7 separate regions of the Homo sapiens genome follow, and regions 1, 2, 3, 5, 6 and 7 are each linked to region 4. The links are contacts of gene promoters, found by promoter capture Hi-C in blood cells and fetal thymus (Javierre and others, 2016). All regions are on one chromosome and are shown on one strand. The core of a region is centred on a gene start or on the middle of the fragment in contact, and the rest is flanking DNA. Distances in the headings are between cores, read along the strand shown. Region 1 overlaps PRDX6-AS1 (PRDX6 antisense RNA 1). Region 2 overlaps LOC100506023 (a long non-coding RNA gene). Region 3 overlaps PRDX6-AS1 (PRDX6 antisense RNA 1). Region 4 holds the start of DARS2 (aspartyl-tRNA synthetase 2, mitochondrial). Region 5 overlaps RABGAP1L (RAB GTPase activating protein 1 like). Region 6 overlaps PRDX6-AS1 (PRDX6 antisense RNA 1). Region 7 overlaps LOC100506023 (a long non-coding RNA gene).

What was found. Contacts are between HindIII fragments. The CHiCAGO score rates a contact against its expected background, and 5 or more counts as called.
Region 1: a contact is called between a fragment that was not itself captured here and the fragment with the promoter of DARS2 in region 4, in 17 of 17 cell types (megakaryocytes, total CD8 T cells, naive CD4 T cells and 14 more). The highest score is 31.7, in megakaryocytes.
Region 2: a fragment that was not itself captured here is called in contact with the fragment with the promoter of DARS2 in region 4 in 3 of 17 cell types (fetal thymus, megakaryocytes and monocytes); the score reaches 5.8 in fetal thymus.
Region 3: a fragment that was not itself captured here is called in contact with the fragment with the promoter of DARS2 in region 4 in 17 of 17 cell types (total CD8 T cells, megakaryocytes, naive CD4 T cells and 14 more); the score reaches 53.6 in total CD8 T cells.
Region 5: a contact is called between a fragment that was not itself captured here and the fragment with the promoter of DARS2 in region 4, in 1 of 17 cell types (fetal thymus). The highest score is 7.2, in fetal thymus.
Region 6: a fragment that was not itself captured here is called in contact with the fragment with the promoter of DARS2 in region 4 in 6 of 17 cell types (naive CD8 T cells, naive CD4 T cells, megakaryocytes and 3 more); the score reaches 8.1 in naive CD8 T cells.
Region 7: a contact is called between a fragment that was not itself captured here and the fragment with the promoter of DARS2 in region 4, in 1 of 17 cell types (total CD8 T cells). The highest score is 5.4, in total CD8 T cells.

Annotation. Positions count from the first base shown.
Region 1 is chr1:173,435,358-173,438,698 of GRCh38, forward strand. The region is part of intron 1 of PRDX6-AS1 (PRDX6 antisense RNA 1); the gene reads right to left. The region is part of intron 2 of LOC100506023 (a long non-coding RNA gene); the gene reads right to left. It also overlaps a transcript of TNFSF4 not described here. Among named protein-coding and RNA genes, the nearest start is that of PRDX6-AS1, 24 kb to the right of the region's middle. The HindIII fragment of the contact is 2,784 bases long and covers 478-3,261 here.
Region 2 is chr1:173,469,055-173,472,639 of GRCh38, forward strand. All of the region lies in intron 1 of LOC100506023 (a long non-coding RNA gene), which reads right to left. Among named protein-coding and RNA genes, the nearest start is that of PRDX6, 6.5 kb to the right of the region's middle. The HindIII fragment of the contact is 1,904 bases long and covers 1,235-3,138 here.
Region 3 is chr1:173,417,400-173,420,838 of GRCh38, forward strand. It overlaps PRDX6-AS1 (PRDX6 antisense RNA 1), which reads right to left. Exons shown (of 2, transcript NR_125960.1): 2 at 390-1,223. All of the region lies in intron 2 of LOC100506023 (a long non-coding RNA gene), which reads right to left. It also overlaps a transcript of TNFSF4 not described here. Among named protein-coding and RNA genes, the nearest start is that of PRDX6-AS1, 42 kb to the right of the region's middle. RefSeq lists enhancers at 783-1,122, 2,881-2,980. The HindIII fragment of the contact is 1,686 bases long and covers 1,164-2,849 here.
Region 4 is chr1:173,822,847-173,826,172 of GRCh38, forward strand. DARS2 (aspartyl-tRNA synthetase 2, mitochondrial) reads left to right here and starts at 1,827. Exons shown (of 17, transcript NM_018122.5): 1 at 1,827-2,510. The coding sequence starts at 2,384. CENPL (centromere protein L) reads right to left here and starts at 2,037. Exons shown (of 6, transcript NM_001387287.1): 1 at 1,366-2,037; 2 at 1,080-1,173. RefSeq lists enhancers at 1,314-1,553, 1,531-2,049, 1,784-2,343, 2,050-2,567, 3,209-3,326. The HindIII fragment of the contact is 2,471 bases long and covers 1,724-3,326 here.
Region 5 is chr1:174,217,421-174,220,757 of GRCh38, forward strand. It overlaps RABGAP1L (RAB GTPase activating protein 1 like), which reads left to right. Exons shown (of 26, transcript NM_001366446.1): 2 at 1,705-1,875. The coding sequence starts at 1,738. Among named protein-coding and RNA genes, the nearest start is that of RABGAP1L, 60 kb to the left of the region's middle. RefSeq lists a silencer at 3,065-3,184. The HindIII fragment of the contact is 509 bases long and covers 1,116-1,624 here.
Region 6 is chr1:173,451,615-173,455,210 of GRCh38, forward strand. All of the region lies in intron 1 of PRDX6-AS1 (PRDX6 antisense RNA 1), which reads right to left. The region is part of intron 2 of LOC100506023 (a long non-coding RNA gene); the gene reads right to left. Among named protein-coding and RNA genes, the nearest start is that of PRDX6-AS1, 7.9 kb to the right of the region's middle. The HindIII fragment of the contact is 5,329 bases long and covers 1-3,596 here.
Region 7 is chr1:173,400,130-173,403,834 of GRCh38, forward strand. The region is part of intron 2 of LOC100506023 (a long non-coding RNA gene); the gene reads right to left. It also overlaps a transcript of TNFSF4 not described here. Among named protein-coding and RNA genes, the nearest start is that of PRDX6-AS1, 59 kb to the right of the region's middle. The HindIII fragment of the contact is 388 bases long and covers 1,567-1,954 here.

The DNA.
Region 1 (3,341 bases), core at 620-3,119, 390 kb before region 4:
TGTGTTGCACTCCTAACCCCCAGTGTGGCTGTATTTGGTGTAAGGATGTAACTGATGTTAAATGGGATCATAAAGGTAGACCCCAATGAAATAGGATTAGTGTCCTTATAAGAGGAGACACCAGCGAGCTTACTCTCTCTCCCTGCCGCATGAGCACACATCTACAAGGCAGGAAGGAGCCCTCACTAGGAACTAACTGGCCAATACCTTGATCTTGAACCTGTCAGCATCCAAACCTGTGAAAAAATAAATTTCTATTTCTGTTGTTTAAAACACCTTGTCTATGGTATTTTGTTATGGCAGCCCAAGCCAACTAATACAGTATGCAATCAATTTAAAATTTCTTATTAACAGCTATATTCAATAAAAGTTAATCTACCTCTGAGGAAAGTTTTTTAAAGATTAATAGTTGCTTATGAAAGAAAAACTGTAGTCAATTATTTGTTGCATCCTACCTTTAATATAATGAGACATAAAAGCTTTACCCATGAATGTCATTTAGTGTCCTTTCCTCATTTTCAAAGTAGTTTATTGTTTAGAAAACAGAAAAGAAAACCTAGTACACATCCATAGCTATTTCTCAGGAAACATTCTCAGAAGTAGAATTACTAAGTTAAAGACTATGCATATTTTAAAGCTACTTGATAAATATTTCCCAAGTATCCACCAAAAAGGTTGAACCAATTTACACTCCACAAAGGAGCAGAGAAGAACATCTATTTCCATGTACTCATGCCACCTCTGAATTTCATTTTAAATTTTATGTCTTAGTTTGTTATCTCCCAGAAGCAGACACTGAGACAAGGATTCAAGTGCAGGCAGTTTATCTGAGTAATACAGAAATACAGAGGGATGGATATGGGTAAGAAGTAACCAGAAGCGAAGGCAGCCAATAAAGGGTGCATTACTAAGCCACCTATCACAGTGGGCAACTGGAACTTAATCTTGCAGAGAAACTCTGGGAAATAATACAAAATGCCCCAGCATTATCCCACCTAAAGGGCTAAGGTCTTACATGACAACTCCAAAAGTCATTAAGTGAGGGCTACCATTTTGTTTTGTTTTGTTTTGAGACGGAGTCTTACTCTGTCACCTAGGCTGGAGTGCAGTGGCATGATCTTGGCTCACTGCAACCTCTCCCTCCCGGGTTCAAGCAACTCTCCTGCCTCAGCCTCCTGTGTAGCTGGGATTACAGGCACCTGCCACCACACCTGGCTAATTTTTGTATTTTTAGTAGAGGTGGGGTTTCACCATCTTGGCCAGGCTGGTCTTGAATTCCTGACCTCATGATCCACCTGCCTTGTCCTCCCAAAGTGCTGGGATTACAGGTGTGAGCCACTGCCAAGTGAGGGCTACTTAAGGAAAAGGGCACAGGGCCTTCAGCATTTTTTTTTAAGCCCTCAGGCATGGAGTTGCAAATACTGCCCTTAGAAATCTAATGGGGAGCGCTGAAATGTCCAGAAATGTGTCCCAGCGCTGATGGCATCTGGTACACTTTGTCAACTTGATAGGGATAAAATGATAGGTTTCTGTGTAGTGAAGAATTAACTTAGGGCTTTTGGCTACCGGGAGGTGATCTCTAGGCCCCTGGAATGCCCAGCGTGTTATGAGTATCTTTGTTGGCCTGAGGGCTTTGGCCACCAGTCTAGAGATGTGATTTATGGTGAGGGCTTTGACCCTCTGGACATCAAAGGCTCAGGTGAGCATCACTGGTTGGCAGTATTCTGTATGTATTGTCACACATCGTAACCAGGAGGTAACACAATCCATGACTCTGTAGAGAGAGGAAGATGGGAAGCCCTGTGCATGGACCCCTCCAGGCTCTGCCCTATGTCGCTTCCCTCTGCTGATTTTATTATCTGTGTCCTTTTGCTATAATAAAATTGTAAGCATAATAAAACTGCTTTCCTGAGTACTGTGTGTCATTCTTGTGAATTACCCAACCTGAGGGTGGCCAGACAAGGTCTCTCGGCTTTTTCTTTTTTAAGTACTTTAACTTTGTTAATTTTTTTGTTGTAAATAGCTTATTATTAATTATTTGCTTATTAATTTAGTTTGTAGCTTTAAGTTATTATATAACCAGTTCTATCAGTCTTTTCCTTTACAGCTTTTCTGTACTTACAAAGGTCTTTCTCACTACAAAATTATATAGGCATTCATCTTTATTTTCAAGTTTTTTAGTGTCCTTCTCCCACATTTAACTAATTCCATTTGGAATTTGTTTTCTTGTACTCTTTTAGGTAAAAATCTATTGTTACTTTTTCCCAAACTGATTCTCAATTGACCCAAAACCACCTTTTGCCTCACTGTATTTTTCTTCATTTTTATCACATGCTAAATTCCCACATACACTAGGGTTCATATGTGGTCACTCTATTCTGTTCCATCTATATACAGTCCATCACTCTTGTCTTCAGATTCTGTGGGTTTATAATACATATTAATATCCCATTGCAAACATTTTTCCTACTTATTGTTCCTATTCAAAATATTCTTAGTTTTCTTATTCTTCCATCATAAAATTTTCTGCACCCCAAGAAAATGTTTTACTCAGAACATAAAAGAAAAATTAAAATCACATCATCAATTCCCATCACACCTGCCCCTCCCCAATAAAATCCCACTAGAATTTTTTATTGGAATTGCACTAAACTTAAATATTAATTTGGGAAAATTTGTATACCTACAAAACTGAATCTTTCCATTCAGAAACATGGTATGTCCCCCAGTAAAAACAAATACATTTTTATCCTAGTACTTCTATTTCTTTAATTAAACCCTGACTAAATTAGAGAGTATCTAGGTAGAAGACTCACATTGTCCACCAAAGTCTACCATGGGTTAATTTTGTTTCAAAAACATTAAAACCTATACAACATGAAAAAAATAAATAAATACATTTTATAAATTGTTTTAAGTTGGCATCCTTCATACAGGTCTAGCAAGTTTCTTGTTAACTTCAAGGAAATAGCATTTTTATGGCTCTTAATACACACTGCTCCAGGAAATTTCCACTTCCACCAGCATCATATAAGACTGAATGGGTCCCCCTGAAAATTTGAGCTGATTAAAAAGTATCTCACTGTAGATTTAAAGTGTACTTCTTTGACCACATATATTTATCAGCTGATTGTATTTTTTTCTTTGTGAACTGTATCTTTTGCTTATTTTCTATACTTCGACTTACCAAGTAGAAGTATTTTTCTCAATAGGTCATTTGCCTCTTAATTTTATTATATTTTCTGATATATAGAATTAAAAAGCTTTCCATACTGGCAAATCTCTTCTTTGTGGTTTCTTCAGTGGCATTTATGCTTAGTGAGTCTTACAATTCAAAGATC
Region 2 (3,585 bases), core at 937-3,436, 350 kb before region 4:
TCTACACCCAGGATGCATCTAAACAAAGGTTTTATAAAGAAAGCCTGATCTCAACAATGTTTTTCATGTAAGAAGAACCTTCCTGGTAATTATAGTGATTTTAACAATTTAGCAACATTGACTGAAACTTCCTGAAGTTTGTTTTGAAACACTGGAGTGAGCTTTTTGAACAATTCAGGAAAATAATAGTTCATATACAACTATTCTAATGTACACACAGTGGCAATTTCTTTTTCTTTTCTTTTCTTCTTGTTTTTTTAACCTTATTGAAGTACTGCAAAATACACAGAGAAAACAGCAATTATCTTAAATATACAGTTTGATTAATTTTTACAAACTAAACACATGTAATAGCCAGTATCCAGATCAATGGTCCTGTGCAATCACCAAGTAGCCAGCTTTCTTTATGAGGGAGTGTAGGCACACTTGTAGTCCTAGCTACACAGGAGTCTGAGGCAGAGGATACTTGAGCCCAGGAGTTGGAGGCTGCAGTGAGCCAAGTTAATGCCACTGCACTCCAGCATGGGTGAAGTGAGGTCCTGAATCAAATAATAACAATAATAATTTACTACTCCAAAATCCCTCTGAGAGTTATTTCTCATTGTAGCATTTTATTAGCTGTTGTCTTTCATTTTCACTCCTACATTTCCTACTTTGATTTCTCTCCAGATTGTAGAAGTCCTGTAGTAGATATAATAGGGAGTAGTAGATATAATGACAACATTAAACATGATTGATATGGTTTGACTGTGTCCCCACCCAAATCTCATCTTGAATTTAACTCCCACAAGTTCCACAGGTCACGGGAGGAGCCCAGTAAAAGGTGAATGAATCATGGGGGCAGGCCTTTCCTGCACTGTTCTCGTGACAGTGAATGAGTCTCACAAGACCTGATGGCTTTAAAAATGGGAGTTTCCCTGAACAAGCTTTCTTTTTGCCTGCCACCATCCACGTAAGATGTGACTTGCTCCTCCTTGCCTTCCACCATGATTGTGAGGCCTCCCCAGCCATGTGGAACTGTAAGTCCATTAAACATCTTTCCCATATAAATTACCCAGTATCAGGTATGTCTTTATCAGCAGTGTGAAAATGAACTAATACAGTAAACTGGCACCAGTAGAGTGGGGCACTGCTGAAGAGATACCCAAAAATGTGGAATCAACTTTGGAACTGACTAACAGGCAGAGGTTGGAACAGTTTGGAGGGCTCAGAAGAAGACGGGAAAATATGGGAAAGCTTGGAACTCCCTAGAGACTTGTTGAATGCCTTTGACCAAAATGCTGATCATGATATGGACAATGAAATCCAGGCTGAGGTGGTCTCAGATGGAGATGAGGAGCTTGTCGGGAATTAGAGAAATGGTGACTCCTGTTATGTTTTAGCCAAGAGGCTGGCAGCTTTTTGCCCCTGCCTAAGATATTTGTGGAACTTTGAACTTGACAGAGATGATTTAGGGTATCTGGCAGAAGAAATTTCTAAGCAGCAAAGCATTCAAGAGGTGACTTGGATGCTGTTAAAGGCATTCAGTTTCATAAGGGAAGCAGAGCATAACAGTTCAGAAAATTTGCAGCCTGACAATGTAATAAAAAAGAAAATCCCGTTTTCTTAGGAGAAATTCGATCTGGCTGCAGAAATGTGCATAAATAACAAGAAGCCAAATGTTAATACCCAAGACAATGGGGAAAATGTCTGCAGGGCATGTCAGAAGTCTTCACGGCAGCCCCTCCCATCACAGGCCTGGGGGCCTAGGAGGAAAAAACGGTTTCAGGGGCCAGGCCCAGGGTCCCCATGCTGTGTGCAGTCTGGGCACTTGATGCCCTGTGTTCCAGCTGCTTCTTTTAGCCATGACTAAAAGGGGCCAATATACAGCTTGGGCCATGGCTTCAGAGGGTGCAAGCCCCAAGCCTTGGCAGCTTCCACATGGTGTTGAGCCTGTAGGCACACAAAAGTCAAGAATTGAGGTTTGAGCACCTCTGCCTAGATTTCAGAGGATGTATGGAAATGCCTGGATATCCAGGCAGAAGTTTGCTGCAGGGCCAGGGCTGTCATGGAGAACCTCTGCTAGGGTAGTGCAGAAAGGAAATGTGGGGTCAGATCCCCCACATAGAGTCCCTACTGGGGCACTGCCTAGTGGAGCTGTGAGAAGAGGGCCACCATCCTCCAGACCCCAGAGTGGTAGATCCACCAACAGCTTGTACCGTGTGCCTGGAAAAGCCACAGACACTCAACACCAGCCTGTGAAAGGAGCCAAGTGGGAAGCTGTACCATGCAGAGCCACAAGGGTGGAGCTGCCCAAGACCATGGGAACCCACCTCTTGCATCAGCATGACCCAGATGCAAGACATGGAGTCAAAGGAGATAATTTTGGAGCTTTAAGTTTGACTGCCCTGCTGGATTTTGGACTTGCATGGGGCCTATAACCCCTTTGTTTTGGCCAATTTCTCCCATTTGGAATGGCGGTATTTACCCAATGCCTGTAACCCCATTGTATCTAGGAAGTAACTTGCTTTTGACTTTACAGGCTCATAGGCAGAAGGGACTTGCCTTGTTTTGGATGAGAATTTAAACTGGGGACTTCTGAGTTAATGCTGAAATTAGTTAAGACTTTGGGGAACTGTTAGGAAGGCATGATTGGTTTGAAATGTGAGGACATGAGATTTGGGAGGGGCCAGGGGCAGAATGATATGGGTTGGCTGTATCCCCACCCAAATCTCATCTTGAATTGTAACTCCCACAATTCCACACGTGATGGAAGGAACCCAATGGGAGGTGACTGAATCATGGAAGCAGGTCTTTCCTGCACTGTTCTCATGATACTGAATGAGTCTCACGAGATCTGATGGTTTTAAAAATGAGAGTTTCCTGCACAAGCTCTCTTTTTGCCTGCCACCATCAACATAAGATGTGACTTGCTCCTCCTTGCCTTCTGCCATGATTGTGAGGCCTCCCCAGCCATGTGGAACTATAAGTCCATTAAACCTCTTTCCTGTATAAATCACCCAGTTTCAGGTATATCTTTACCAGCATCATGAAAACGAACTATTACGATGATAAAGAAAAGCAGTGGAGAGATTATCAGCCCCACTCACTGAAGGTTGACAGGACTGCCTTAATGATATGTACAGGTTACTGTGCCCAAGCTTTCTTTATTTCTGAAAAGACAATCAAATCTAACAAGAAAGTTTATAGAGTTGAAAAAAAACACAATCTCACCATCCTAACATTAATTTTAGTTTTATATGTCTCCTCCCATTGGTACAGGGATTTTTACCTAGCTCTAATTACAGTCATGCATCACTTAACGATGGGGATATGTTCTGAGAAATGTGTCATTAGGCAATTTTGTCATTGTGTGAACATTATGGAGTGCACTTACACAAACCTAGATGGTATAGTCTACTACATACCTAGGCTACATGGTATAGCTTATTGCTCCTACGCCTCAAACCTGCACAGCACATTACTATACTGAATACTGTAGGCAATTATAACACCATGGTAAATATGGCTCAAGCCTGTAATCCCAGCCCTTTGGGAGGCTAAGGTGGGAGGACTACTTAAGCCCAGGAATTTCAGACCAGCCTG
Region 3 (3,439 bases), core at 757-3,256, 410 kb before region 4:
TGGCATTGTAGCAGGTTAAATATTGTTAACATCTTACAGCTAGACCTATAATTTTTTTAGGGAGAGATCAATTTTGTTTAGGAAAACATCTTAATAAACCACGTGGAAGCGTGGCCAGCAATGAGACTCTGAAGTTACAAGCCATCAATAACCAAGACCAAAACCTAGAAAACCAAGTTTGAAAAAGCCAGAGTCCCATAGAGGGTGAGTACTGATTTCTCTCATTGCCTGACATTATAACAAAGAGGTTCAGGGCACAAAGATGAGATCTCACCTCCGTCTTCACCTCCCTCTTTTTAGTACTACTCCATCCTTTACAGATTCACCTACACACACTCACACATGCACACACACCACTCCCTTTTCAGGAAGAAAGCTACAGGCTCCAGTTAATTAGAAATTCTACTATTTCAGCTTTATTACTTCCTCTTTACTCTCTGAACTTTAAAGGAACACATTTCTGTAAAGTTTAAATTATTTCAATGAGGTGTATTACCTTTTTAACTGGGGGTGGGAGGGAAGCACTTTTTTTTTCTTTTTTTTTTTTTTAATGTTGAAGACTCCACTCAGTCATTTGAGCTCCAGGAAGCCTTCCCTGGCCACCCATAAGTTAAGAGAAGAGCCCCTCTTCTGAGCTCCCAGAGCACCCACTTCATACCTATGCTATAGAACACACCGCCAAGGACGGAAATTATCCAAAGGTTTGTGTCCATTGATTGCCATGCCAGGCATCCAGCTCTGCTGAAGCACGCAGGGGCCCTGACTTCCTCATTAGGTATTCTCAACACCTCCACCAGCAGCTGGTAGGCAGCAGAGCTATTGTTACTGAGCTGCCCACGGCACCAATGGATCTATGAATGAACCTGAACGTCTTCCCTGGAGAAAAGCACTTGCTTGTCAAGGGAGGAACAGGGGTCTGAAATGCTAACCCCTGCCCTATAGTATGGGTGTGCATACGGTGCACCTTCCAAAGCCCAGAGTGGCATTCTTATTACATCCCGGAAACCCCCTGGTCAGGGGCTTTTGGGGTGACATCCAATATGTAAATACCAGGGTCGGGTCCTGCTGAGTGGCATAACAGTGCCATATGTGAAAGTTCCACCAGCAGCAGAGGGCTCTTTCATTAGTCATTTCACTGCACACAGCTGTAAGGAATCTGGCGAAGCTTGATTTGGCTGGGAGGAGTGCATTTTCCACTTGTAGGCGTCTTGAAAACTTTCATACTAAAAAAAAAAAAAAAATTAACAACAAGAAAATCATCATAGTCCAAAATGAGAAGCCAGAAATTGAAGGTGGAGAGCCAGGGTAGCAAACATAATGGAGGGACTCCAAGACCGGGCTTCCACCAGGACCCTACACTGACTCACAGATGTGTAATGGTCATGGCGAGCCTTACATGTAAACAGAGATCCCAACATGTCCCAGAGGTAGTGGCTGTGGAAGCCTGGGCAGATGCCAGGCAGTATTCTAAGGTTAAGCATTGCTATGGTTTGAATGTGACCCCCAAATTTCATGTGCTGGAAACTTAATTCCCAAATTCACATATCGATGACATTTGGAGGTAGGGCCTTTGAGAGGTAATTAAGATTAAATAAGGCCATGAGTGTGTGGCCCCCACGGTGGGGCTGGTGGCTTTATAAGAAGAGTTAGAGTAACCTGGCCGGGTGCTGTGGCTCACGCCTGTAATCCCAGCACTTTGGGAGGCCAAGGCGGGCAGATCACGAGGTCAGGAGATCGAGACCATCCTGGCTAACACGGTGAAACCCCATCTCTACCAAAAAAATACAAAAAAATTAGCCGGGTGTGGTGGCGGGCACCTGTAGTCCCAGCTACTTGGGAGGCTGAGGCAGGAGAGTGGCCTGAACCTGGGAGGCGGAGCTTGCAGGGAGCTGAGATCACACCACTGCACTCCAGCCTGGGTGACAGAGCAAGACTCCGTCTCAGAAAAAAAAAAAAAAAAGAAGAGTTAGAGTAACCCAAGCGGACAAGCCTGCTCTTGCCCACTTGCCATGTGATGCCCTCTGCCACGTGAGGATGCAGCAAGAAGGCCTTCACCAAATGCCAGCACCATGTGCTTGGACTTCCCAGCCTCCAGAACTATAAGCAATAAATTTCTTGTCTTTATAAATGATCCAGTCTGTAGAATTCTGTTACAGCAATGGACTAAGACAGGCATGATTTGGGGTACAGAGAAGGAAAACTGAGAGGTCACAGAAGAGAGAGGAGGGTGGAAGCTGGGGGAGAGGCACTGATGGAACCAGCTTCCACCCTTCCCTGCAGGGCTTGGAAAGACCCATGAGGACACAAGGGAGAATAAAAGGAAGCAGCCCTGATTGCCATGGCTGGGTCAGGGTCAGGAGGCTAGGACTGCTTTATGTCCCTGCTATAATGGACTTATGGGTTTTTTAAGATTTTTTAAAATAGATTAACTATAGCTCCTAGAGCTGACTCTACTGATAACTTTACCCTGGACTCCCTCCCTGATTTTGACCTTAGTTTGTGTGGCGGGGGGGGGGATGAGAGGCTGCGGTCCAAATGGAATGCAGTTTGCCTGTCCTCTATCAGCATCAATGCATCACCTTTCCCCCGATTTTTACCTCATGATATATTTATGCATTTAACGCATGTTTATTGAGTGAGCTGCATGCAGCAAAATGCACGTAAAAAGCAATTTTTTTTCTTTTTTCTTTGTCCTTTCAACTCCTCTCTCTGGATTTGCCTTGTCCCTGCACTTGAGATGAAAGCTAACCAATACCACGGATTTTCTAGCCACTCTGAGCCATTAAATAAAGAGGCTCTTTAAAACAAACAAACAAAAAAAAAAGTAAAAAACAGTCTACTCAACCTGAAGCTTCTCCCCTCTCAGACTCCTTCACTTCAGGTTTGGAAACTCGGTACCAAGGAGGAAGGCATGGACTTCACCATTTTCTCTCCTCCACCTCTCGTAGCCAGCTGCTAATTCTCAAGCCTCAAGCTGTGAGAGATTGAGAACTGAGGGAAAGGACACAGTACTTGACGGCTCTTACTGTCATGACGCGGCCTTGGTGCCCTCTGGGTTTAGCATGTTTTCCAACGCTTTCCTTTCCAGCCTCACTTAGGCACATTGCAGTTAAAGAATATGGCCACCAGGTGGCAGTAAAGGCCTTTTTTTTTCCTGGCCAGTAGACCCTACCCTCCGGTTTTATATGGCTACATAATTTCTTTAAGATGATGTCAAATATGCTTTCCCTACATTTCAAAAGAAAAGAAAGTAAACACTTAAAACCACAAACTGGTCAACTTAGCAAAAACTAAATATAATTTAAAGATGATGCCCTAGGGAATAAACGTGTAAAGAAAACCTCCCAAGTTGTTAATTATGTAATTACATAACTAATTTACTAAGTCTTTCTCTTCCTCAAATTATTACTGTGTAAGTCTAAATCTTATTCCCAGATCT
Region 4 (3,326 bases), core at 577-3,076:
CCTGCCTCAGCCTCCCCAGTAGCTGGGACTACAGGTATGCACCAACACGCCTGGCTAATTTTTGTATTTTTTGGTAGAGATGGGGTTTCTCCATGTTGGCCAGGCTGGTCTTGAACTCCTGACCTCAGGTGATCCGCCTGCCTTGGCCTCCCAAAGTGCTGGATTACAGGCATAAGCCACCACACCTGGCCTCTGACATATTTCTTAAAAAGATATACACTTGTCCTCTTAGATGTGGGCTTCACTTTCATTCTCAATTATAGCTACTTATCTTGTTCCCAATCTTAGCCCCTTTCCCTAATCCATCATCAGTCTTTCATTGTCACCACTTTTATCATTACCTTGCTTGAGATCCCATAACAGTTCCCACACATCTATATGAAGTCAAATCAGAATTCCTGTCTGGCTTTCAAGGCACTACTGTATTTGATCTTATTATCTGATCCTATCCAGGTTCATTTTCTACTACTTCAGTTCTTCCCCAAGATCCATCGACATTAGCCTTTCCAAAATCCAACATTCTGCATACACTTCCTCTAAGGTTTTGTATACAACATTGGGGGGTGGGGGGATGGGAGTGAAGAAAGTTCCAGTAGACAATTCTTTAAGAGGTTAAATGACAGCCCTATACCCAAACATGCACCCCCTACTCTAGACAGATGATCACTCTACTGTTCTCCCTGCCTTTTTATTCACCTTATCGCCAATTAAAAACACTTCTCTACTCCCGTTTGTCTCAGTAAATCTTATCCATTTTCCATGTGCCATCTCCTCAGAAGTTTTCCTGAGCTTGGCAGGGCTAGTTCTCTTGACAATTCCACTTGCAGTTGTGGTTCACAGCACACAAGTAAAGCTTTGTTGTTTCTCTTGTGATTAGTCCGTGAAGGGGCTCTGACTTGATCACTTTTCTACATTGCCACCAATACCTAAATCCAACCGCCCCAATGCCAATACTTAGCCAGTGTTAAGCACGTAGTGTTTAAACACACCTCAACACGCAAGTATTGTAAGATAATGACCACACAACAGGGCAAATACAAAGTTAAAGCAGGTCCGGGACCAATACAAAGCATCTTTACCAATAAAATGCCGTGATGACGCTGTCACCCATTCCGGATTCACGAATCATTCTTCAAAAGTCCGGCTCCAAAACTATGTGGAGACTGAAATCCCCTGAAGAAAAAAAAAAAAAACCGCCAAAATGACAGCTAAGACAGAGGCCAGACTAACCCCTGGCCCTCCCAAATTCCCTCTCGCTCCACAAGTGGGTTCACAAGAGACACAAACGCACCCAGGAAGACCTCCGCTCCCTCAGACGCGGGGCGGGCCCTGCGACTTCACTCTGGGAGGGACATTTCCGCTCACCCAGCTCTGCGACCCTCGCTCCTGCGGAGTCAGCTTCTGCTCGCGGAGGGGGAAGGGCAAAAGGACAGTGCGTCCCAACCCGTCCCTCTCCAGCTGAGCCTGTCAGAGACCAGCCCAGCTCTGAAATCAAGCCGTTGAGAAAAGGGAATTCGGCCCTCCGCCGCCTCTTCAGTTTAAAATCGTTTCCCGACTCGCTCTGCGGCCCCACGCAGGAAGCCTCCTTGGCGCCTCGCCGATTCCGTATCAGTGAAGCAACTAAAATTGCCATTTTAACTGAGGGCAAGGCCGAGCCACTTAACCACTATCGTCAACCTTTCCAATCGTGCTCGGTTGCTCCTCAGTTTTCCTACCGGTGCGAAGCTTTCTCTCAAATTTCCGCCCGTAGTAGGCATGGCGGCGGCACCTCACCACTGATTCGTTGAATTCCTTCCCGGTAATCTTGGGCACTAGCGGGCGGAGTTGAAGGGCGCTTGGACCCCAGCGGCGATCTGTGTTTGGGTTCGCGCTCTGGGAGAATTTTGGCTTTGCTCGCCTTCCTCTTTCAGAAGACTCGAAATCGGCCAGCAGGTCTGCGAGATTTGAAACGCGACTGTTACTCCTTGTTTTCCGGTTCTGGCCGCGGGAGCCTCTCGAGAAGCGTGGAAAGAGGAGAAGGGCGTATACCTTGTGACCGCCTCTGGTTGTCTTGGGCTCGCGCCTGGCGCCGCTACGTGGAGTCGCTCTCTCGTCGTCACTTTTGGCTGCCGACTTGTTGAGTAGAAGTGCAGACTGATGCTTTAAGACTCAGGGAGAGGTCTTTCCCTTATCTCCACCCCAGCAAGCACCCCAGAGACCTTGGAGATTTGTCTTGTTTCTAGACACGTGTACTCCAATGTTGTGCGGAGGAGGCCTTAAATATTCGAGAAGAGAGTGGGAACTCCTGGAATTTTAAGGGATTTCTGTGTATTTCCAAAACTGACTTTTAACTACCGGCAGCGTGGGATTTCGTGATTGTTTTTCGCCATCGTGTGGCTCCAACATGTACTTCCCTTCTTGGTTAAGTCAGCTGTACAGGGGTTTATCCAGACCCATCAGAAGGACCACCCAACCGATCTGGGGTTCTCTCTACAGAAGTCTGTTGCAGAGTTCACAGAGGAGAATTCCAGGTGAAAATAGCGAAGAGATCTATCCTATGAACAGTACTTCAGCCTGTTATCTACGGCCGGAGAGCTTTTATTCCATTTTTCATTTTTTCCCCCATTATTATTATTATTATTATTATTATTATTATTATTTGAGACGGAGTCTCGCTCTGCTGCCCAGGCTAGAGTGAAGTGGCGCGATCTCCGCTCACTGCAAGCTCCGCCTCCCGGGTTCACGCCATTCTCCTGCCTCAGCCTCCCGAGTAGCTGGGACTACAGGCGCCCGCGACCACGCCCGGCTAATTTTTCTGTATTTTTGGTAGAGCCGGGGTTTCACTGTGTTAGCCAGGATGGTCTCGATCTCCTGACCTCGTGATCCACCCGCCTCCGCCTCCCATAGTGCTGGGATTACAGGCGTGAGCCACCGCGCCCGGCTTTTCCCCTGTTCTTAACTGGATAGCCTTATGTGTAGAAGCGAAATTCACTCTCATTATATTCATTATACGGCAGTTTTTTTTCCCTGAGTTTTTAGAAAGACCACAAAAAGGTAACCACGTAATATATAGAATACTCTGCTTTTGGTTGATGCCTTAAAAAAATCCTTCTTCGGCCGGGCGCGGTGGCTCACGTCGTTAATCCCAGCACTTTGGGAGGTCGAGGAGGGCGGATCACGAGGTCAGGAGATCGAGACCATCCTGGCTAACACGGTGAAACCCCGTCTCTACTAAAAATAAAAAAAAAATTAGCCGGGCGTGGTGGCGGGCGCCTGTAGTCCCCGCTGCTGGGGAGGCCGAGGCAGGAGAATGGCGTGAACCTCGGAGGCGGAGCTTGCAGTGAGCC
Region 5 (3,337 bases), core at 120-2,619, 390 kb after region 4:
AGAGTGTGTGACAAGGGAAAAGGTCAGGATCTGAACTCAGGGAATTTCTAACATTTAGAAATCAGGTAGAGGAGCAGCAACCTGAGAAGGACTTGAAGGATTGACCACAGAAAGACATCTGGAATATGTGGTGTGTTGGCAGTTAAGGATTCATCGTGCAGTCTGGAAGAGTAAAGACCTGGCTTGTAACACATTCTGCATTTTTAGAAACAAAATATACAAAGTGAGAAAAAAACCTTCAGAGGACAGATGAATGTCGCTTGGGTTTTAAAAAGGAAGGGTGTTAACATGCATAACAGAAATAAATGATGGCTAGCTAATTACACTGGTCCAGGAGTATGGTTATTCTTTATTTTGATATTCTTGAAATTTTTGATTTTTTATAAAGTTGGAAAGTAATTACTTTTTAAAAGATACACATGTAACTTGAAGCTAGACTCATTCTTTTTATTGCCAAGAGTAATGGTGTTAGTGTCACCTAATGGCAAAATGGAATATTGCAGCTATACTTATAGGCTATAATGAAAAGGTAACCTAATTAGAAAGAAAAATAACATTTCTGGGGGGATTTTAGGCATGGATCAGTAGACTTACTATGGCTTACAAGGTCCCGTGTTCTTTAGCCCTAGCCTGCTTGTCCTGCCCCTCTATCACATTACTCATTTGGTCACTGAGCAGATTGTGTAATAGTAGGGTTCTTTTTTGTCTTTCAGGTTTAGGCTCAGATATTTTCCTCTCAGAGAGCTTTTTCCTACCACCTTAATTTGTCCGTATACTTCCCATAGCTACTGTTTGTCACATTAACGTGTTTATTGTTTGCATAGCCTTTAGAGTGACTTGGAATCACCATTTGCTCCCTTTTTATTTGTTTTCTTACTAGTATGTAAGCCCCAGAAGTGCAGGCTACTTGTTTTCCTTATTCACTTAGGTAACCTCAGGGCTGAGTTGTGTCTGTTATATAGTGTATGTCTGCAGTTAAACTTAGTTGTGTGAGTACATGAACTTCTGGATATGATAGTGAGTGTTGTTTCTATGCTGTAGAGATCTATCCAGAAAACAGAATTACACTGTGTTTGATTACTGAAACATTATTTGCTACGTGAAGGCAATATAGAAGCTTTTTTCTTTTTCTTTTTGGTGTTAATAAGTGATAATGTGTCAGGAAAGAGAAGCTATATGTCTTAGGATGTTGAATTCTGTATTAGTCAACTTTAGTTACTCAGAAAAAATATTTGCAGGTACAATATTCGGTCTTGAGGAGATAAGTTTTTTTTTGAAGCATTTAGATTTAATTAATATAGCAGTGTCAGTGAATATGGTTTTGTGTCTGTGTGTGCATTTGTAGGTATTTCTAGTATCATTTAATTATTTCCTCTATTAAAAAGAAAACAGTATTTCTAAGAGAAATGAGAGTGAGTGTGTCAGGTAAACAGTGATAAATCTGGTTGAGATATGGACTGGTTTGTGTAAATTTTTAGGTAACAATATGGCTCTATTAGTCTGGAAACTTAGGATGAAGAGAGAGTACATTTCCATTAAGTGGCTCAGTCCAAGAAGGTAGCCTCCCTAACTTTGAGATAATTATCTAGCCAGCAGGATTCTTCTTCACATAAACCATTTTTAAAGCTTTATTAGTTCATGTTTTTAATTAGTTCATGTTTTTAATCAGTAGGTTTTTTTTTTTAATCCCTTTTGTTTTTCCAGGTGGTTGTGGGAAGAGAAGTTTGCAGAACTGAAATGGAGGTCAGAGCTTCATTACAGAAGGTTAGTGGATCATCTGATTCTGTGGCTACAATGAACAGTGAAGAATTTGTTTTGGTTCCTCAGTATGCAGATGATAATTCTACAAAACATGAAGAAAAACCTCAACTGAAGGTATTTTTTTCTTTTCTACATATGGTATAATTTTTAATTAAAAACTATTTGAAACTTAGGAGATGTGTAAAATGCAAAGGTTTTTCTCAAGTGCTGACTTTCAAAATAAAATCAATGTTTGATTTATCCAGACCCTAATTATTTGGTTTGTGTATTTTAAAAAGTTCTTGCTTTTGGTTGTTTACCTTTTGATTTGGAATTTTAGGGGGAAGAATAAAAGAAGAAAAAGAAGAGAAAGGATTTTTTGGTGAATTAGACATAATGGTTAAATTTTACATTACTTTATCTGGATGTTTTTGTTTCTCTTACTGCTGGGTTTTAGAAGTTAATTAAATGTTTTGCTTTCACTTGAGAGACTTTTTTCTTTATGATTTTTATGTTTTAAATCAGCTGGTAACGTTCCGTTGTGTGATTTAACAGTCGACTTGTCTAAATGTTTTTAAAGCATATCTTATATTTTTAGCATTTGAGTTTTTATTTAGATATGGTCCCTTTTTCACTTCTGTGTTGCACTTTCTAAGTCAAAGAAAAGGAAGCAAGTAAACTCAGTTATATAGGCTTGAAAATGGTATAACTGTCTTCTAGAAACAGGAATAGGAAAAGTAGTTAAAAGTGCTATATATTACTTATGACTTTTATTTAGTATTAACTATGGCATCAAAAGTGTATTAATATATCAGTCTAATAAAATATATTCTGAAAATGAGATTACTAAATGTTTATGTTGAGAATATATTGTTTTATAATTTTATTTAAATAATCAGTGGCTTTATTTTTAGATACCTGTATTTTAGCATTATTGTGTTTAAGACATCACTTATTTGCTTAGGCTTTGTGTTTCACCTGCCTTTGAGAAAACTATGAGTCAACTTAAGTGTAAGGAAATTAGCAATATTCATCTTGGGAGCTAGCCAACAATTTGTAAAGAAATCAGAAATATGGTTATGCTGTGCTAACAAGAAATATAACCTTTTAAATGATATTCATAATAGACCCGATTTAAATTTACCTATTTTTTCCTTTAGACATGTAAATTTAAGGTTATCTGATTTTTAGGGTGTGTTCCTAAAAAAGAAAAAGAAAAAGAAGGGCCAGGCGTGGTGGCTCATAGCCTGTACTCCCAGCACTTTGGGAGGCCAAGGTGGGCAGATTGCTTGAGGTAAGGAGCTCAAGACCAGCCTGGCCAATGTGGGGAAATCCCGTCTCTACAAAAAATACAAAAATTAGCTGGGTGTGGTCGTGCACGCCTGTAGTCCCATCTACTTGAGAGGCTGAGGCATGAGAATCGCTTGAACCCAGGAGGCGAAGTTTGCAATAAGCTGAGATTGCACCGCTGCATTCCAGCCTGGGTGACAGAGTGAGACTCTGTCTTTAAAAAGAAAGGGGAAAAAAAGATAAATACATCTCTGTAAATAGGATCTTATATAAAATGTAGTTGGAAACTGTCTTAAGTGTTTTATAA
Region 6 (3,596 bases), core at 853-3,352, 370 kb before region 4:
TGGTCAATTGATTTCTTTAAAGATGTAAAAGGAATTCAGTGGAGAAATTATGGTATTTTTAACAAATGATACTGGAACATTTGGACATTCAGATGCACATAAATTCATACATACATATACACACAATACATGCATACATACACACATACATACATATGAAGAATAAGCCTAAACTATATGTCACACCTTATACAAAATGAACTCAAAATGGATCATAGACTATAAAGTCTAAAGCTAATAAACTTGTAGAAAAAGAAACTATCTTGCCCTTCCGTGTCTTTTAAGAAGTCTTTTCTTTTTTTACCCCCTTGAAAACCCTGTAATTGCCTCACCTGGAGCTGATGCCTCACAAAAGAGAGGATGCCCACTCTCCTCAAAATCTACCCCAAACACTTCTTATTGCCACTAGACCCATAACTAGAGTCCAATTTCAACATGTTCCAGCAGCCTGGAAGTGGCAGCAGGTCTCTGAGTATAACTGTGGCACTGAGCCCAGGTTCCCAGATTTGTCTCGTTCCACTTGCTCTGCAGAGTATGAGCCAATATAAACTAAAAGTGATGTCTTTACTAAACACCTGTTACGAAACAGCCTGAGGTGTAGATATCTCTCATCTCTGGCCTTGTTTTCAGCATTTTTCCTCCTTGGATCAACAGTTTCTGATACCAGGTTAGGTTACAAGGCTGGAATAAAAAAACAAACCCCAGCTTGGAAAGGAAGGTGAATAAGGTAGTCACTCTTACTTGTTTGTTCTCACAGAATTTGTCCACCTGACTATTGAAATACCCAGTCTAGCTTCTTAGTTTTTATTCATGGCTGTTGGTATTTATTAAGTAAGCATTAACAGACTTATTGGGCAAGTAAAACATAATGTGCTAGGCAGCCACAAGAAAATACAAAGCCAGAGTCCCCAACCCTCAAGAGTTCATTCTAGACTAATCGTAAATACATGGCTTTATGTTTTCAGATTATGCTTAATGGAGCCACTCCGAACCATTTTCTTCTGGGTGGCACACCTCTGCGTAACGAAATTTTCCAGACTTCATATGGGCAAGGTAGCTAGGCAGAGAGAATGACCTAAAACTAAAATTGTTTCAGAGAGAAGTAGGAATTGTACTAATTAATGCTGGAGCAAGACAAAGATAGACTTCGAAGGGGCAGATGGCTACAGCTTAGTGTCTAACATTATGGAATTGATCTCGGTAGGGCACCTAGCATTGCTTCTACTACTCCCATGCCTCTAACTGTCCCATAAGCAGGTGCTGTTAGTGGCAAAGGCAAAATGCAGGAGTGCAGCCCACCATGGCTATAAGAAGTACTCAAAATCCATATCTTCCTGCTTTGGGATAGCTGAATCTCAATAGACAACAATTATTTTTGTAACACACTTAAATAATGTAAGAGAAAAAATAGTAAAGAAGAAATGTTTAGAGAAAATGGAATGACAAATGAGCAAATATAGGAAAAGAAGTCAGGGAAAAGAACATCACACTATAAACTCATCAATGCTTTATACCAGCACCTTGCACAAAGTTTAACTTTGTAAATTGTCTTAAATATTAAATACCTAACTTTATATAAAAAGGCAACACCAATATCATCTCTTCTCAGCGCCTCCAAACAAAATTATGTACTTTGTTTTTTCTAATTAAATTTTTTTTTTTTGAGACAGAGTCTCACTCTTGTCACCCAGGCTGGAGTGCAATGGCACAATCTCGGCTCACTACAACCTCCACCTCCAGGGTTCAAGCGATTCTCCCGCCTCAGCCTCTCAAGTAGCTGGGATTACAGGTGCCCACCACCATGCCCAGCTACTTTTTGTATTTTTTTTTAATAGGGATGAGGTTTCACCATGTTGGCCAGGCTGGTCTCAAACTCCTGACCTCAGGTGATCCACCCACCTCAGCCGCCCGAAGTGCTGAGATGACAGGCATAAGCCACTGTGCCTGGCCAGAATTATGTACTTTCAATTGTTTATCCTCCACTAGAGATGCTTCTCTGTGAATTAGTTACACATCTTTATGAGTAACTACCTTTATCACCTACCTTTATGATCAGGTTGTTGATCTGAGAGATGGGACTATGGAACAGAGGAAAATTAACAGGTGCCCATTAGGCCTCAAGCCACAGTTGAGTTTTCAGTGGGATTGTACTCTCAGCTAATGAGATGGAAATGAAAGCTGAGTGCTTACTGACAAGAACTGACTTCATACCTAAGTGGGCACACAAAAACCCCAGAGGTGTAAGAGTAAATTCTGGGCTTCTAATCTGCCAATCAAAACTTCACAAAGGGTTGTGATTGTTAATTGTAAAATAAACCTATCTGCCCATGGGGACTCTTGGGAAACAGCGTTACTGACTATATAACACATGTAAATACTCTGTTTATATACTTTAATTGTCTAGCCCTCTGTAAAATGAAACAATTTAGTTTAGGGACACTTGAGCTCAGTATCTAAAGACTAGGACAAGCCCACATTCCTTCTCCTTGGAAGAGAGATCTTCTTTTTCAACAGCTAAAATGCAGCCATTTGCTAAAAATGACTCAGCACTCAGAAAGCTCAGGAGAACAAATCTCAGAGAAAGGGGCTGTCCCTGCCAGACACCCCATTTCTCCCACCCAAGATTTCTATGCCATGTATCACCCATACAGCCAGAAAGCTAGAAGTATATTTATTTTATAAGTGACAAAGCAAGGAAACAATGCTGAGAGGTCCAGAATTGAACAATAATCACCATAGATATGTTTCTTTGGGGAGAATTCTTCTATGTAAGAGCCTTAAAATTACCTCTCAAATTTACTTTTTGAAACCATGGTGTTGAAAGGGACTGCTTGAGAATCTGGAACCCGGTGTTTGGTGAGGTTATCTTGGCCCATACTTCCTCTGCATAGCAAACAGTGACTCTTTGGAATAAGGGGCAAACTTGGGACTCAGGGCCAGAGTTATATTCACAGACTGGCTGCCACTTCCACACCACTGGAATATGATGACAATTGACCCTAGTTATGGGTCTAGCAGCAGTAACGGGTGTTTCAGGTAGGCTCCGAGGAGAGTGAGCATCCTCTTGTTTGTGAAGTATTTGCTCCAGGAGAGGCAATTACAGGGTTTTTGAGGGGAGAAAAAAATTCTGCAGATACACAAGAGCAAGATACTCCCACTGGCAAGGGAGACTCAGAGCAACTCAGGGGTTCAAGATTCTCACTCTCACTTGAGACCAACCATATGTGCCCATTTCAAGTTTTGGGGTCTCCTTCCCAATCAATGACCTAACTTTCACATGAGAAACTTGGCATTAATTTCCCAAGAAAATTACTGATGTTGTAGTTCTGCAACCTGTAAAATTAAATTTTGTGTTTAATTTTTAACAATACCAACCCTGTGGCTACAAGACATAAAAGATCCTGTTAGGGCTGCCATGGAAGTCCTCTAGTTCTCAGACCGAGAACTAAACCAAGAGCTTAAGGACCTGAGCTTTTCATCTTCTGTCTGTAAGCACTCCACTACACTCAGAAATATCCATCCTATGCTACAGTCCTTGCAGTGATCACTACTGCCGTTAAGAGTCCAGTGTCCGGTCAAGAGACAGAAACCACACA
Region 7 (3,705 bases), core at 511-3,010, 420 kb before region 4:
TGATCAAAGAACTCACTTCACAGCAAATAAAGTGTAGCATGGAATTCACTTGTCTTACCGTGTTTTCCACCATCCTGAAGCAGCTGATTTGACAGAATATTGGAATGGTCTTTTGAAGACTCAATTATAGCACTAGTTAGGTGGCAATATCTGCAGAACTGGGCAAGACTCCCCCAGAAAACTATATATGCTCTGAATCAGCAAGGAATAGATAGTGCTGTTTCTCCCATAGCCAGGATTCTCAGGTCCAGGAATCAAAGGATAGGAACAGGAGTGTCACCTCTTACTGTTACTCCAGTTACACCAGTAAAATGTTTCCTTCCTGTTCCTTCAACTTTATGTTCTGCCTGCCTAGAGGTCTTAATTTCAAAAGGAGAAATGCTTCAACCAGGAGACAATGAACAACAATGGTTCCATTGAATTGGAAATTAAAACTGCCACCTGGCCACTTTGGGCTCTTCATGCCTCTGAATCAACAGACAAAAAAAAGGAGTTCCTTTGCTGACTGGGGTGATTGATCTTTACTCCCAAGGGAAAATGAACTACTACTCACAATGGAGTAAGGAAGAGTATATCTCTCATACAGGAGATCCCTGGGGGCATCTCTTACTATTACTCTGCCCTGTGATTAGGTCAGTGGAAAACTACAGCACAATCCAGACAGAACTACTAATGGCCCAGATGCCTCACTAATGAAGTTGGGGTCACTTCACCAGGAAAAGAATCACAACCAACTGAGAAACTTGCTGAAGGCAAAGGCAATACGAATAAGTAGTGATAGAAAGTAGTTATAAATGCCAGCAATGACCACATGACTACTTACAGAAACAAGGACTCTAATTGTCATGATTATTTCCTCCTTATTTTGTTATGAATACAATTGTGTGTGTGCATATATATATATACATATATATTTGCTTTCTTTCCTCTCTTACTCCCTTATTATATAACATAAAATGTATTGTTTAATCGTAGTATTTAAGTTTTGTTAATTTTACATCGTAGTGTTTAAGTTATAAGATTTCAAGAAGGGTAAACCTCACTCAAGTGCTTTAACTCCTCTTCTGGGAAAAAGGTTATACATTTTGTTGTCTACAGGATAGTAATATCATGTGGAATTATGAACTTGTTATCATCTTTATTTGGAGGTTAAGTATGGTTTCAGGAGGCACGTATGAGTATCAAGTTGGCAAGGGGTGGACTTGTGATGGTTAATTTTATGTGTCAACTTGGCTGGATCACAGAAGCTCAGATATTTGGCCAAAGATTATTTGTGAGTGTGTCTGTCAAGGTGTTTACAGATGAAATGGGTGTTTGGATCTACAGACTGTCCTCCCCAATGAGGACTGATATCACCCAGTCTGTTGAGGACATGAAAAAACCTAAAGGTGGAAAAAGGAAGAACTCACTCCTTCTGCCTGGCCACTTGAGTTGAAACATCTGTTTTCTCCTGCCCTTGGTCTGAGACTTACACCATCATCTCCCCAACTTCTTAGGCCTCAAGACTCAGACTGAACTACACCACTGGCTTTCCTGTATCTCAAGCTAGCAGACAGCAGATCATGAAGCTTCTCAGCCTCCACAGTCACATAAGTCAATTCCACACACATACACAACACACACACACACACCCATATACATACATATACACACACATATACATATATGTCTGGAGAACTCAGGTTAATACAACTATATATTTGGGAAAGGCTTGTCATTAATAACAAGTCCATTTGTTGAAAAATGCTGCTAATGTCCTATCTTATATGGGCAATGGTTTGTCAGACATTAGATCATCCTTATTTTTGCCTTGTTATGTGGCCAGTGTAAAGTTTGTGCCAGCTAGAGCTCTCTGTCAGTTTCGTATTTTCCATTTGCACTTGTGTTGTTAATATGTCTTCAAAATTCATGGCTTCTTTACAATGATATTTTTAACCATTGGCCTCAAATCCTAAGCTTCTTTTTTTATGCTCAGAAACTTTCTATTGGGAGCAGGTTGTGGGCAAATAAATGTCTATTCTTTTACCCTAGGTCAAAGATGCATTCCTAAGTTATTCTTCCCACACCTCAGCCAAAGGTACAACACATCTGCAATCCTGAGAGGCAGAAATAATAATACCTGTACTTACCATAGGCTGATTTGCCATAGGACCTTGGAGAAGCCACTTCACCTACTATTAATTGGCCTTCTGTGCCTTGCAAGAGGATTTTTCAAATCTCAGCCTTCACAAACCACAGTAGAGCTTCTGGGACTCCATACTGTTGCTGTCACAGCCCAGCTTGTGTATACATCCTGCCACAACCAAAACCCAACCAGAGGTAATAATTTCAGATTTTGAAGTTCCCTTTATTTCCACACCTGACCTAATTTTGTAATATGCCCTGGGCCATGCTCTGCACTGACATGTATCCCACCTTCATCAGTCAGATGGAACGTATTAAGCCAACTGGAAAAGGGGTACAAATCTCACCTTTCCCCAGAGCACTATTTCTCATCAATCCTGCTTCAAGGTCATCACCATGTTCAGCAAATGAAGCTCCTTGATGACCCCATCATATAGCTTAGGCACATGGCAGAGAAGGGTGAGTTTGGGCCAGAAATCTGTAAGGACAGAAAAGTAGCCAGTGGCTTTCAAACAATCCCCTGGAGGGCTTGTAGGCTCCTGAGCCTCATACCCAGAGTTTCTGATTCAGGGAGTCTGAGGTGAGGCCTGAGAATTTGCATTTTTTTTTTTTCTTTTTGAGACAGGGTCTCACTCTGCATCCAGGCTGGAGTGCAGTGGCACAATCACGGCTCACCACAGCCTCAACCTCCCAGGCTCAAGTGATCCTCCAACCTCAGCTGCCTGAGTAGCTGGGACCACAGGTGCTCACCACGATACCCAGCTAATTTTTTATTTTTTGTAGAGATGGTATCTCCCTATGTTGCCCAGGCTAATCTCAAACTCCTGTGCTCAAGTGACCCTCCAGCCTCAGCCTCCCAAAGTGCCAGGATTACAGGCATGAGCCACCACACCTGGCCCAAGAATTTGCATTGCTAACAAGTTTTCAGGTGATAACTGAGGCTGCTGGTCCATGGACCACACTTTGAGTAACACTCCAGACTAGGCCAAAGGATACCTGAGTGCTTGTCTGGCATCATCTGGCCATTTTTTCACCCTAGAAATGCCATCTGTTATCTAGCAGCCTGATGCTACTGCTAGCCAGCAGAGACCATCAAGGCCCAAACACATAGATGCATTTTTATGCTCCAGGAGCTTTGCAACATAAAGGAGTTCGCCAATGTAAGTGTCTGGGTCTTTTCTAGAAGCTCCCTAATTTGTAGGATAATTTACCTCCCCATGCTTTATGTAAGTGCAGGGAACAGAGGACAATCAATTCCACACTGACATTTTCTGACAGATCTACATACGTAACAATTGAGATTTGAAATGGTATCATCAAACAAAACCCTGAGTAGTCTTTCAACTGAGTAGTCTTTCAAGCGTTTTCAGCTGGGCGCGGTGGCTCACGCCTGTAATCCCAGCACTTTGGGAGGCCAAGGCAGGTGGATCACGAGGTCAGGAGTTCAAGACAAGCCTGGCCAAGATGGTGAAACCCCATCTCTACTAAAAATACAAAAATTAGCTGGGTGTGGTGGCGGGTGCCTGTAATCCCAGCTACTTGGGAGGCTGAGGCAAGAGAATCACTTGAACCCGGGAGGCA